Regions from separate parts of the Homo sapiens genome. Here regions 1, 3 and 4 are each linked to region 2. The links are contacts of gene promoters, found by promoter capture Hi-C in blood cells and fetal thymus (Javierre and others, 2016). All regions are on one chromosome and are shown on one strand. The core of a region is centred on a gene start or on the middle of the fragment in contact, and the rest is flanking DNA. Distances in the headings are between cores, read along the strand shown. Region 1 has its middle 150 kb from the start of ZNF385D-AS2. Region 2 holds the start of KAT2B (lysine acetyltransferase 2B). Region 3 has its middle 170 kb from the start of ZNF385D-AS2. Region 4 overlaps TBC1D5 (TBC1 domain family member 5).

Region 1 (2,872 bases), core at 301-2,800, 2.1 Mb after region 2:
CAAGGGCAAGAGATGACAGATGTCCTGGCCCAACCAGTAAGGCAGAGAATCAATTCAACCTTCCTCCACCTTTTTGTTCTATTAAGGTCCTCAATGATTGGGTGATGCCTACCAACATTGGGGAGGGCCATCTGCTTTACTCAGTCCAATTCCAAAGGTGCTGTTTTTGAGAAACACTCTCACAGACAAAATAATGTTTAACTGGCTGGGCATCCTGGGACCTAGGCATTTTGACATATAAAATTAATCACCAATTAATATAGTAGTTATTTTTAAATCTGTGAATTTATCTAATTTAATAGTACACATCTGTTACTATTGTATTTTGAGTAATCATAAATAACTTTCATATTACTTTAATCATAAATAAGTTTTAGTAAATACAGTAGTATCCCTAGCATATGCTTAGTCATTATTGATAGGATAAATCACCCCTAGGACTCTGAAACTCTGACTTCAGCAAGAGAAATTCTGATTTGATAGGACTAAAGCAGAGCCCAGGTATTTGTGGCTCCAAAAATCTCCATGGGATGTTCTCACTTGCTACCTGAGTTGAAAATCACTGCCATAAATATTAGGTTGTAAGGAAACTGGTCATCGACATAATCAGGTTTTTCCCAGTAACAAACCTATGCCCTTAACACATAGTATCTATTCTACACAACACTTGGATGAAGTAAGGACAATTACTGCTTACATTTGAAAGATGATGAAACTGAGATACCATCTGCCCTTTGGTCACTGTTCTCCTAGGTCCAGCTGAAAGGACAAAAAAATCTTACATTTTCCAATCTCTGTCTCATACAATACAGAGTACCTGACTGGGCAGCCTTTTAGGACCTTTTTCCTTAAATTTCAGTGAGTTACTGGAAAAGGTTTGCTGTCTTCTTTCCAGATATGACTTTAGCTCCTGGGCATCTGATTTGATGCCCTTATTAGTCAGCTTGAGTCTCTCTCTCACCAGTCCCTGCCCCCTTGGTTTAATACCAGCTCCAGAAAGCCAAGCCGTCAACCTGAGGCCAGTTGGCTGAAGGCCTGACCTCTTACCTACTACTTGTTGGTTGTAACCCTTGGAGTTGAACCTGTCTTCCAGAATCCCTACAAATTGCCTCATGTGACGCAACTGGATCTGTAACTTGATCTTCTACCTAATGCGGAGAAGCCTGACAATCTTGGATCAGTATCAGCATAGGTTAGACTATCAACCACCACGATCCCTTAACTTGTGATTTGGGCACTCATTCTTCATAAGAGTGGTCACCTAACTCTTCCTCTACTCTTGCTAGTTATGGTTAGTTGCTGCTCTCTCTGAAACATCTCTCTGACATGAGCTCCTGGCAGGCATAACTGATTTAGCCAACTTATCTATTTATGCAAAAACTTTGGAATGAGAGTTTTTTTTTTTTTTTTAGACAGAGTTTTGCTCTTGTTGCCCAGGCTGGAGTGCAATGGAGTGATCTTGGTTCACCACAACCTCCACCTCTTGGATTCAAGCGATTCTCCTGCCTCAGCCCCGGAGTAGCTGGGATTACAGGCATGTGCCACCACACCTAGCTAATTTTTTATTCTTAATAGAGACAGGGTTTCTCCATGTTGTTCAGGCTGGTCTCGAACTCCCGACCTCAGGTGATTTGCCTGCCTTGGCCTCCCAAAGTGCTGGGATTACAGGCACGAGCCACCGCACCAAGCCTGGAATATTAGTTTTTAAAAGGCTATTTTCCTCTTGTCAGAAAATTATGTTAAATTTTCTAGATTTTTTTCTGAGAGTCAGGACTGTAAAATCATTGATACATGGGGAAAAAAGCAAAGTTTATACATGGAAATATATTTTAAAAACTACTAATCTTAAAAAACTCTAGATTTTCTGATATAAAATAGGGTAATAACTGAAGACTTTATATGCAAGTAGGAACCTAACCTGAGATGACTTCTTTAGTGACTACAAATTACATAATTTTATTTAAAGTATAGAAACAATATATGCTTACTGCAGGAAAATATACAAAAATATGCATTAAAATATTAAATAATCCTATCAAAAGCTGTTTGCCAATTGTTGATATATTTCCTTCTAGTCTTTTTTCTGTGCATGCGCTGTATGATGTCAACTGTATGTATATATTTCTCTACAGGTAAATTTTACATCCATATGTAGTGTGGTATTAATAGTGCTTGTTTATGTCTATATTTATATATGGAATGGCATGGTTTGAATGTGTCTGCTTCAAAATTCAGGTGTTGTCAATGTGATGGTATTATAATGGGGTGCCCATAATAGGTGATTAGGCCGTGAGGACTCCTCCCTCATGAAAGTGATTAAGGCCCTAATAAAGAGGCTTCAAGCAGCTTTTGGCTATCTCCTGCCCTTCTGCCTTATACCATGTGACGATGCAGAAAGAACGCCCTTACTAGATGTCAGTGTATTGATCTTACACCCCCAAACCTCCAGAACTGTGAGAAATAAATGTCTATTCTTTACAAATTACACAGTGTCAGGCATTCTGTTACAGCAGCATAAAGTGAACTAAGACACAGAATAAACTGAAATATTTGTATGTCTGCATACATACACACATATATAGAGGACACAATGTTTTACTTTGCTTTATTTACAGTAGCAACTTCTTACTCATTTTAATCCACAATTTTGGTCAGAACATCTGTCGAGTGTTCGATTTTCTTGGAAGATGTGTTTATTAACACAGAAACTATACATATAATGAAAGGTTTTTTTTGTTTTTTTTTTGCATGATCTGTCAAAACACAAAACTTCCTTAAGAGGAAAGAAGTAAGGGTATGAAATGCAACTATAGCTTCCTGATGACAGGGATTAAAAGATTTGAATGAGTGCACACATTATTAATCTTGGCCA
Region 2 (3,088 bases), core at 545-3,044:
CATGTTAGAGGTTGATCAGAGAAGCACAGCCTTTAAGACTCTCACCCTGCTTTGCGGAGAATGGCAAAAATCTGCGAAACATCTCAGCAGAGCCAGGAGAGAGTAACACTGGTAACGTGAAGCACGTCAAGCTAAGAAAGGAAGCACTGAAATTAATTGTCCTGAATGGAACCTGATAAGAATCTGCCATTTCATCCCCTCAAGACTGGACTCAAGTTGGGAGAGAATATTGCCTTTTGCCCTGTCTAAGCTAATATCACTGTTTAGATCTACAAACTCCCCCACCTCCCAATGTTTATATATTAACCTGCATTACAAGTCAAAATAACACAGAGAATCTGGAAAAAGAAGAAGGGGAATGTTTCCCACGAAAAGCACACCCCTTAAAGCGTCTGGCCTGAGAGCTATACAGCATGCATAAAATCTGATAATAAGCACATTATGACCCACATTGCATATAACAAAAAGTAGGGCACTTCTGAAGGGTCCTGAGAAAAAGCCCTGGGCTTTTAAAACCTGCTTAAGAAGGCGATCAACGGTACACCACTTTCAAACGCAGCACTGACTTGTATGCTCCACAGTCATCAACAGTGAAAACAACAGTTTTCAACAAGAGTTGGAAACACTGAGTTGAGGGTTTTTTTTTTCTTTTTAAAGTTTGAGGCCAAAATCGATATTTATTCTTTTGAATTATGCTTATATCTTTTTCCTGGTTAATACGCACGCGGTGGCACAATTTTGAAAACTACGTAACGTTATAGAACCACCACCCAGAAACGAATCCTGTTAACAAACTTTTTGTATTCAAACTTTTTCCACTGCATAGTTTTTGACAATGCTTTTTAGACAATCTTTCTTTTAGCAACCAGCACTTTCAAACAAAAATTACAGAGAATAGTAAGTTTTTTTCCCCTCCTCCGGCAGATTTGACCCAGAAATTGCTATGGGAAGAAAGTGTTAATTATATTAAAAAATAGTTTGACAGAAAGTATTTAAAAAGAGAAAGGGAGAACATCACGTCTTTATTTTGGTGAATTAGCAACAAAGAAAAAGATTAGCATGGACGGGTACTTTTCAAAAATATATTTTTTTTCCTCTGGCTCCCGCTAGGGTGGAGGAAGTTGTCTCTCTGTCAGAGACAGGGTGGAAGAGAGTGAAAGGACAAATGATTGAGAGGCTGCCCCCTCCCACTGGTGCAGGCGTGCGGGGGTCGGATGGGGGGCCGCGGAGGGGGGAGGTGGCCAGCAGGTGCCTGGGCTCCAGGCCCCTACCCCCACCCTCGTCCCCACCCTCACCCACACCCAGGGATTGGCCTCGCCCCCTGGCGGGCGAGCGGTAGGTGTCGAAGCACTGGGGTGGGGGGTGCAAACCCCGCGGGCAGCGGAAAAGAGGCCGTGGGGGGCCTCCCAGCGCTGGCAGACACCGTGAGGCTGGCAGCCGCCGGCACGCACACCTAGTCCGCAGTCCCGAGGAACATGTCCGCAGCCAGGGCGCGGAGCAGAGTCCCGGGCAGGAGAACCAAGGGAGGGCGTGTGCTGTGGCGGCGGCGGCAGCGGCAGCGGAGCCGCTAGTCCCCTCCCTCCTGGGGGAGCAGCTGCCGCCGCTGCCGCCGCCGCCACCACCATCAGCGCGCGGGGCCCGGCCAGAGCGAGCCGGGCGAGCGGCGCGCTAGGGGGAGGGCGGGGGCGGGGAGGGGGGTGGGCGAAGGGGGCGGGAGGGCGTGGGGGGAGGGTCTCGCTCTCCCGACTACCAGAGCCCGAGAGGGAGACCCTGGCGGCGGCGGCGGCGCCTGACACTCGGCGCCTCCTGCCGTGCTCCGGGGCGGCATGTCCGAGGCTGGCGGGGCCGGGCCGGGCGGCTGCGGGGCAGGAGCCGGGGCAGGGGCCGGGCCCGGGGCGCTGCCCCCGCAGCCTGCGGCGCTTCCGCCCGCGCCCCCGCAGGGCTCCCCCTGCGCCGCTGCCGCCGGGGGCTCGGGCGCCTGCGGTCCGGCGACGGCAGTGGCTGCAGCGGGCACGGCCGAAGGACCGGGAGGCGGTGGCTCGGCCCGAATCGCCGTGAAGAAAGCGCAACTACGCTCCGCTCCGCGGGCCAAGAAACTGGAGAAACTCGGAGTGTACTCCGCCTGCAAGGTACGCGCTCGCCGCTCTCGGACCGCGGATGGGTGCTAGGGGCCCAGCCCGCGGGACCCCCCTCCCCCTCCCGCTTCCACCTCCGCCTCCCGCCTCCTGCCTCTCGCCTCCCGCCTGGGGCCGCTGCACCGCGGAAGTGCTCTTGTCGCCCGCGCCCAATTAGCTTCTTCTTGGATAAGAGTCCTGCTGGGTTTGAAGAAGGGGGATCACTAAGACGGAGAGCCCTTCATTCCTTCCGCTTGAAAGGAGTAGCTTCGGCATCCGAGCTCCCGGGCTACCTTGGGGTTTTGTTGCTCTGTAGGAGCTCGCTGGAGTCACTTTCCCGGGAGTGGAGCGGTGCTCTCCATGTGGCGGGTGACCCAGGGGCAAGGAAAAATCTTTTGGGGGACTGAGTGGTCCCTTCTGCAATCGATCCCTTCCTGTGTCCCACTGGGAGGAACTGGGTGCAAGGAGTGGGGGTGGAGAAGACTCCCGGACTCCTGGCGCTTTGGGAAAGCGAAGGGGAGGAAAGCGCGGGGTGGGAAGGTGGGCAGAGTCCGAGGCGAGGGTCTTGTGGTGCCTGGCGCCCTCGGCTGGGGGCGGAGGCACTGCCGCGCGCGGTGACAGCCCTGTCATTATTGTATTATTACTTGTTTAGTTAAAACGCTGTCCCAGCTGCTCGAGGTGTAAACAGGATTTGGCAAAGTGACAGCCCAGCGCGGCGGGCGCTACTGCTCAGTTTGAGGACACCCATTTCTTGCTACCCACTCTCCATGCCAGTTTAGGCACCCTGTCACCTCCAGCTGCAGATCCAGATGTGGAGGCTGTGTTCCCGAGGTGGGAGGATTGCCCGAGGCCGCGGGGCAGGCTGGCCCTGCGCTGTCAGCAGCGGCTTTGTTTTGACAGGGTGACAGCTGAGGGGGGCGGGGACTTGGCCTTGTCAGCTCCTGCGGCCTGTGGCTGAGGCAGGGAAGAGACAC
Region 3 (2,841 bases), core at 55-2,554, 2.1 Mb after region 2:
TAGAGCTTAATTTCAAAAACAGAAAGAGAAAAAAATAAGATAATAAGTGTCATATAGGGTTTCTTGAATAATAAGTTCTATGGAAGAAAGAAGAACAGAGAGTATATATATGGGGGAGGTAACAATTTGGATATGGAAAGTACCAAGAAAGGCCTACTGAGACGGTGACATTCGAGTCACATGCTAAAGGGGGTGAAGAAATGAGTCATGCATGCAGTTTTCTGAAAATACTTTAAACAGAGGCAACATCAAATGCAAAGGCCCTGATGTAGAAATCAAGCTTCCTTTGCATTGGCAAAAGATGAAGTAAAGCAGTATGGGTGAACGCCATAAGTGACTGGAAAAGGAGCAAGAAATGATTTAAGAAAAGTATTAGGAGATAAGATCATATAGGGCTTTGGAGGCAACTTTAAAGACTACTTTTATTCCAAATGCAATGGGTTGTCATGGAGGACAACCATGACATTCTTTCCTTTGAGCAAAAGAAGAATAGCATCTGACATCTGTTCTGATAGAAACACTCTGGATGATGAGTTGATAGATTGTTGGGAGTGATTAGAATAGCATAAGATGAGATGCAATGGGATGAGACAGGATGGAAGAGAAGAGAAGAGAAAAGAGAAAAAGTGGAGGGGAGAAGCGGGGGAGACTGAATTACCAAGAAGGTAGGAGGAGTAGATCTTAAAGTGAGAAGTTCAAGAGTACAGTTTTACACAAGTTATATTTGAGATATTTATTTATATAATTAGTTTTTAAAATCTTTATGGGTACATGGTAGATGTATATATTTACGGGATATTTTGGTGTATATATTGATGAGGTAAGTGTATATATTTATAAAATATTTTGATACAAGCATAAAATGTGTAATCACACCACGGTAAATGGGGTATGCATTACCTCAAGCATTTATCATTTCTTTGTTACAAACTTTCCAATTGTACTCCCTCAGCTATTCTAAAATGTATATAAAATGTACAACAAAAAATTATTGCTGACTGGGCCGGGCGCGGTGGCTGACGCCTTTAATCCCAACACTATGGGAGGCCAAAGTAGGTGGATTACCTGAGGTCAGGCATTCAAGACCAGCCTGGCCAACATAGTGAAACCCCATCTCTACTAAAAAGTACAAAAATTAGCTGGGTGTGGTGGTGGGCACCTGTAATCTCAGCTACTCGGGAGGCCGAGGCAGGGAGAATTGCTTGAACCCAAGAGGCGGAGGTTGCAGGGAACTGAGATTGCACCACTGCACTCCAGCCTGGGCAACAAGAGCAAAATTCTGTCTCAGAAAAACCAAACCAAACCAAACCAAACAAAAACAAAACAAAAACTAGAGCTAGACTCCATCTCTCTCTCTCTCTCTCTCTCTCTCTCTCTCTCTCTCTCTATATATATATATATATATATATATATTGCTGACTGAACTCATCCTGTTGTGCAAGCAACTGCTAGGTCTTATTCATTCTATCTAACTATTTTTGTGTGCATTAACCATTCCCATTCTCCCTCACCCCTACAATTCTCAGCTTCTGGTAACCGTTATTCTACTCTCTATCTCCCCGAGTTCAACTGTATTAATTTTTAGCTCCCACAAGTGAGAATATGTCATGTTTTTCTGTGTCTGGATTATTTCATTTATTATGTCCTTCAGCTTCATCCATGCTGTTGCAAATGACATGATCTCATTCTTTGTAATGGCTGAATAGTACTTCATTGTGTATAAGTACCGCATTTTCATTATCCATTCATCTGTTGATGGACACTTAGGTTGATTCCAATTCATAGCTATTATAAATACTGCTGCAAAAATCATGGGAGTGCAGATATCTCTTTGATATACTGATTTCCTTTTTAGGGTATACATACTTAGCAGTGGTATTGCTGGATCACACAGTAGTTCTATTTTTAGTTTTTTGTGGACCTCTATACTTTTCTCCATAGTGGCTGTACTAATTTATATTCCCACAGTGTATGAGGATTCCTGTCTCCACATTCTCGCCAGAATTCATTATTGCTCATCTTTTGGATAAAAGCATTTTAAATAGGGTGAGGTAATATATCGCTGTAGTTTGGATTTGCATTTCTCTGATCAATGATGCTGATCATATTTTCATATATTTGTTTGCTATTTGTATGTCTTTTTTGCGAATTGTCTATTCAGATCTTCTGTCCACTTTTAATTGGATAAATATATTTTATCCTATAGAGTTGTTTGAGCTCCTTATATATCTGGTTATTAGTTTCTTGTCAGATGGATAGTTTGCAAATAATTGTTTCCCATACTGTGCGTTGTTTCTTCACTTTGTTGACTGTTTCCTTGGCTGCATAGAAGCTTTTTAATTTGATGTGACCCCATTTGTCCAATTTTGGTTTGGTTGCCTGTGCTTGTGGGGTATTATTCAAGAAATATTTTCCCAGACCAACATCCTGGAAAGTTTCCCCAAGGTTTTATTTTAGCAGTTTCATAGTTTGAGATCTTAGATTTAAGCCTATAATCGACTTTAATTTTATTCTGTATGGGAAAAAAGATAGCAGCTAGTCCCATTCTTTTGCATACATATGTTCAGTTTACCCAGCATCATTATTGAAGAGACTATCCTTTTCCCAATGTATGTTCTTGGCACCTTTGTTAAAAATGACTTCATTGTAGGTGTATAAATTTATTTCTTGTTTCTCTATTCTCTTTCACTAGTGTATGCATCTGTTTTTAAGTCAGTGGCATGCTGTTTGGGTTACTATAGCTCTGTAGCATAACTTGAAGTCAGGTATGTGATTCCTTCAGTTTTGCTCTTTTTGCTAAGAATAACTTTGGCTGTCCTGGGACTTTTATGGTTCCATATA
Region 4 (2,825 bases), core at 93-2,592, 2.3 Mb before region 2:
AATGCTCTATCAGTTCCTAGCCTAGCCTTTAAGGGGACTAGGTTTTTCCACTTTTTGCCTCTTGAAATGCTTGTTCTTAGAGCACTCCTTCTTAGAAACTACCAGTCATGGCCAGGCCACAGGAAAAGGCCTCATTTAGTACCTCTAGTAAATAGCCCTAGCTGAGCTCCTGGACAGCAGCCAGCATAAACTGCCAGCTATGTAAGTGAGCCATTTGGAAGTAGATAATCTAACCCCCACTGAGCTGACACCAGATGAAACGAAGATAAACTACCCTCAATGAGTCCTACAAAAATCATAAAATCATGAGTAAATAAATATTACTGTTGTTTTAAGCTGCAAAGTTTTGAAGCCATTTGTCACACGGCAGTTAACAACCAGAACAGCCTCTTATTTACTGCTGTATTTTTAACACATAGAACAGTACCTGGTATTGGACATCTATTTTTAACAAGCACGCCACCAGAAGTATTAAAGTAAAGATGTTATACGTGGCCCTGGCACTCACAGAGCAGTCAAAAGCATGACATAGACTAATGAGTAAAAAGGTAATTATAATTCACAATAAATATTATAATTCATAATTCATAATATTTATGTATTATGAGTAATACATAAATATTATAGTATAGAGTATTTGGCCAAACAGGAAGAGCACAACACAGACTTGGTAGTATAAAGAAGCTTCCTGGAACAGAGTGGCATTTAAGCTAAGACCTTACAAAAGTGAGTAAGATGAAGAGACAGAAAAACTACTCTGTGCCCAAGGCAAGCAAAAACATGAACAGTTCCAAAATCAAAGAATTTCAGTATTTTTTACTTTTTTACAAAATCACATAATATAAGGGAGGCAGAAGAGGGGGTCATGAGGCTGGGTGCAGTGACTCACGCCTGTAATCCCAGCACTTTGGGAGGCCGAGGCGGGCGGATCACGAGGTCAAGAGATTGAGACCATCCTCGCCAACATGGTGAAACCCCATCTCTAATAAAAATACAAAAATTTGCTGGGCATGGTGGCACACGCCTATAGTCCCAGCTACTCTACTCAGGAGGCTGAGGCAGGAGAATTGCTTGAACCCGGGAGGCGGAGGTTGCAGTGAGCTGAGATCGTGCCACTGCACTCCAGCCCGGCGACAAAGCAAGACTCTGTCTCAAAAAAAAAAAAAAAAAAAAGAGGGTGTCATGAGACTGGAAATAGGCAATGGAGAATATCAGGTTTTAAGCCACAGAATAAGAGAATCGTGAGAGCTTAAAAAGATTACCTACCTGGCTGCGGGGACACCAGTCAGAAGACCTTACAGAAACAAAGGCAAGAGATGATGGGGACCTGAACTAGAGAAGACATAGTAGGGATGAAGACACAATGGGTTCAAATCCACAGGGTTGAGTTTGATGCCTGTACATGAGGATGTAGAGAATGGAGTAAAATGTGTCTGCCACGTTTCTGGCTTGAATAACTAGGGAGATGGTAGTGCTGAGATTAAAAAAAAAATTAATTTAATTAAAAAACACACACTTGTAAAGATTTTTTGTAAGAGAAGAAGGTAAATTCTGTTGCAGACTTACTAAACTGAGTTTCCTGTGAGCCATTAAGAAGTGGAGTTATCCAGTAGGCAATCAGATACACAGATCTGAAAGTTCAGGGAGGAAATCAGGTTGGAGGTCTAAGATAACAGACTCTTCGGGCCAGGCCTAGTGGTTCACACCTGTAATCCCAGCACTTTGGGAGGCCGAGGCAGGCAGATCACTTGAGGTCAGGAGTTAGAAACCAGCCTGGCCAATGTGGTGAAACCCCATCTCTACTAAAAATACAAAAATTAGCTGGGCATGGTGGTGGGCGCCTGTAATCCCAGCTACCCAGGAGGCTGAGGCAGGAGAAGCCCCTGAACCTATGAGGCAGAGATTGCAGTGAGTTAAGGTCACACCACTGCACTCCAGCCTGGGCAACAGAGCGAGACTCCATCTCAAAAAACAAAAAACAAACAAAAAAAGACTCTTCAGAAGCTTTTTCCATCTTGGTGACACTACTCCCACACTATCTACTTTGTAACATTCAACCACTCAGTTACTATTCTATAATTTTCTGGCTGGGCACGGTGGCTCACGCCTGTAATCTCAGCACTTTGGGAGGCCAAGGCGGATGGATCACCTGAGGTCGGGAGTTCAAGAACAGCCTGACCAATAGAGATGGCCACCAGAAGAGATGGCAAAACCCCAACTCTACTAAAAATACAAAAATTTGCCAGGCCTGGTAGCATTCGCCTGTAATCCCAGCTACCCAGGAGGCTGAGACAGAAGAATGGGAGGTTGCAGTAAGATTACACCACTGCACTCCAGCCTGGGTGACAGAGCGAGGCTCCGTCTCAAAAAAATAAATAAATAAATAAATAAATAAAATTTAAATATATATCTATAATTCTCTGACCGTTTGTCTTTATGAAGTATCTGTCTCTCCTTTCATTAATTCTTCCATATCAGTAGTTTCATGTTATAAGGACACTCAACTTTAATCAATACTTTGCCACACCCTTTGCAAAGTGGAATACATGATTGCCACTGATCATGAAATTTTGTAGTAGTTTTGTGACAAGATGGGGACATTAGGGAAACTGATCAGGACCACTTCCCATACTGGTAGAAAGCATATAGTACTCCTGATCAAAGTAGAAAGGAGGTAAGGAGCAATTTTCTGAAAGAAAGGAGACAAGGTATATCTAGAAAATAAACAGGAAGCCAGAAAATCAGTAAGAGGGCAGAATCAATGGAGTCCAGAGAGAGAATCATGAAGCAGAAAGGGGGCCAGAGAAAGAAGAGTTCATACTAGG

The links. Contacts are between HindIII fragments. The CHiCAGO score rates a contact against its expected background, and 5 or more counts as called.
Region 1: a contact is called between a fragment that was not itself captured here and the fragment with the promoter of KAT2B in region 2, in 1 of 17 cell types (M2 macrophages). The highest score is 5.3, in M2 macrophages.
Region 3: a fragment that was not itself captured here is called in contact with the fragment with the promoter of KAT2B in region 2 in 2 of 17 cell types (M1 macrophages and M0 macrophages); the score reaches 5.7 in M1 macrophages.
Region 4: a fragment that was not itself captured here is called in contact with the fragment with the promoter of KAT2B in region 2 in 1 of 17 cell types (non-activated CD4 T cells); the score reaches 5.2 in non-activated CD4 T cells.

The regions. Positions count from the first base shown.
Region 1 is chr3:22,105,633-22,108,504 of GRCh38, forward strand. It overlaps a transcript of ZNF385D not described here. Among named protein-coding and RNA genes, the nearest start is that of ZNF385D-AS2, 150 kb to the left of the region's middle. The HindIII fragment of the contact is 4,489 bases long and covers 1-2,872 here.
Region 2 is chr3:20,038,652-20,041,739 of GRCh38, forward strand. It overlaps KAT2B (lysine acetyltransferase 2B), which reads left to right and starts at 1,795. Exons shown (of 18, transcript NM_003884.5): 1 at 1,795-2,129. The coding sequence starts at 1,827. RefSeq lists silencers at 1,057-1,696, 1,867-1,996, 2,197-2,256 and an enhancer at 1,420-2,390. The HindIII fragment of the contact is 5,734 bases long and covers 1-3,088 here.
Region 3 is chr3:22,122,577-22,125,417 of GRCh38, forward strand. It overlaps a transcript of ZNF385D not described here. Among named protein-coding and RNA genes, the nearest start is that of ZNF385D-AS2, 170 kb to the left of the region's middle. The HindIII fragment of the contact is 2,052 bases long and covers 279-2,330 here.
Region 4 is chr3:17,730,352-17,733,176 of GRCh38, forward strand. The region is part of intron 1 of TBC1D5 (TBC1 domain family member 5); the gene reads right to left. Among named protein-coding and RNA genes, the nearest start is that of TBC1D5, 11 kb to the right of the region's middle. The HindIII fragment of the contact is 1,320 bases long and covers 683-2,002 here.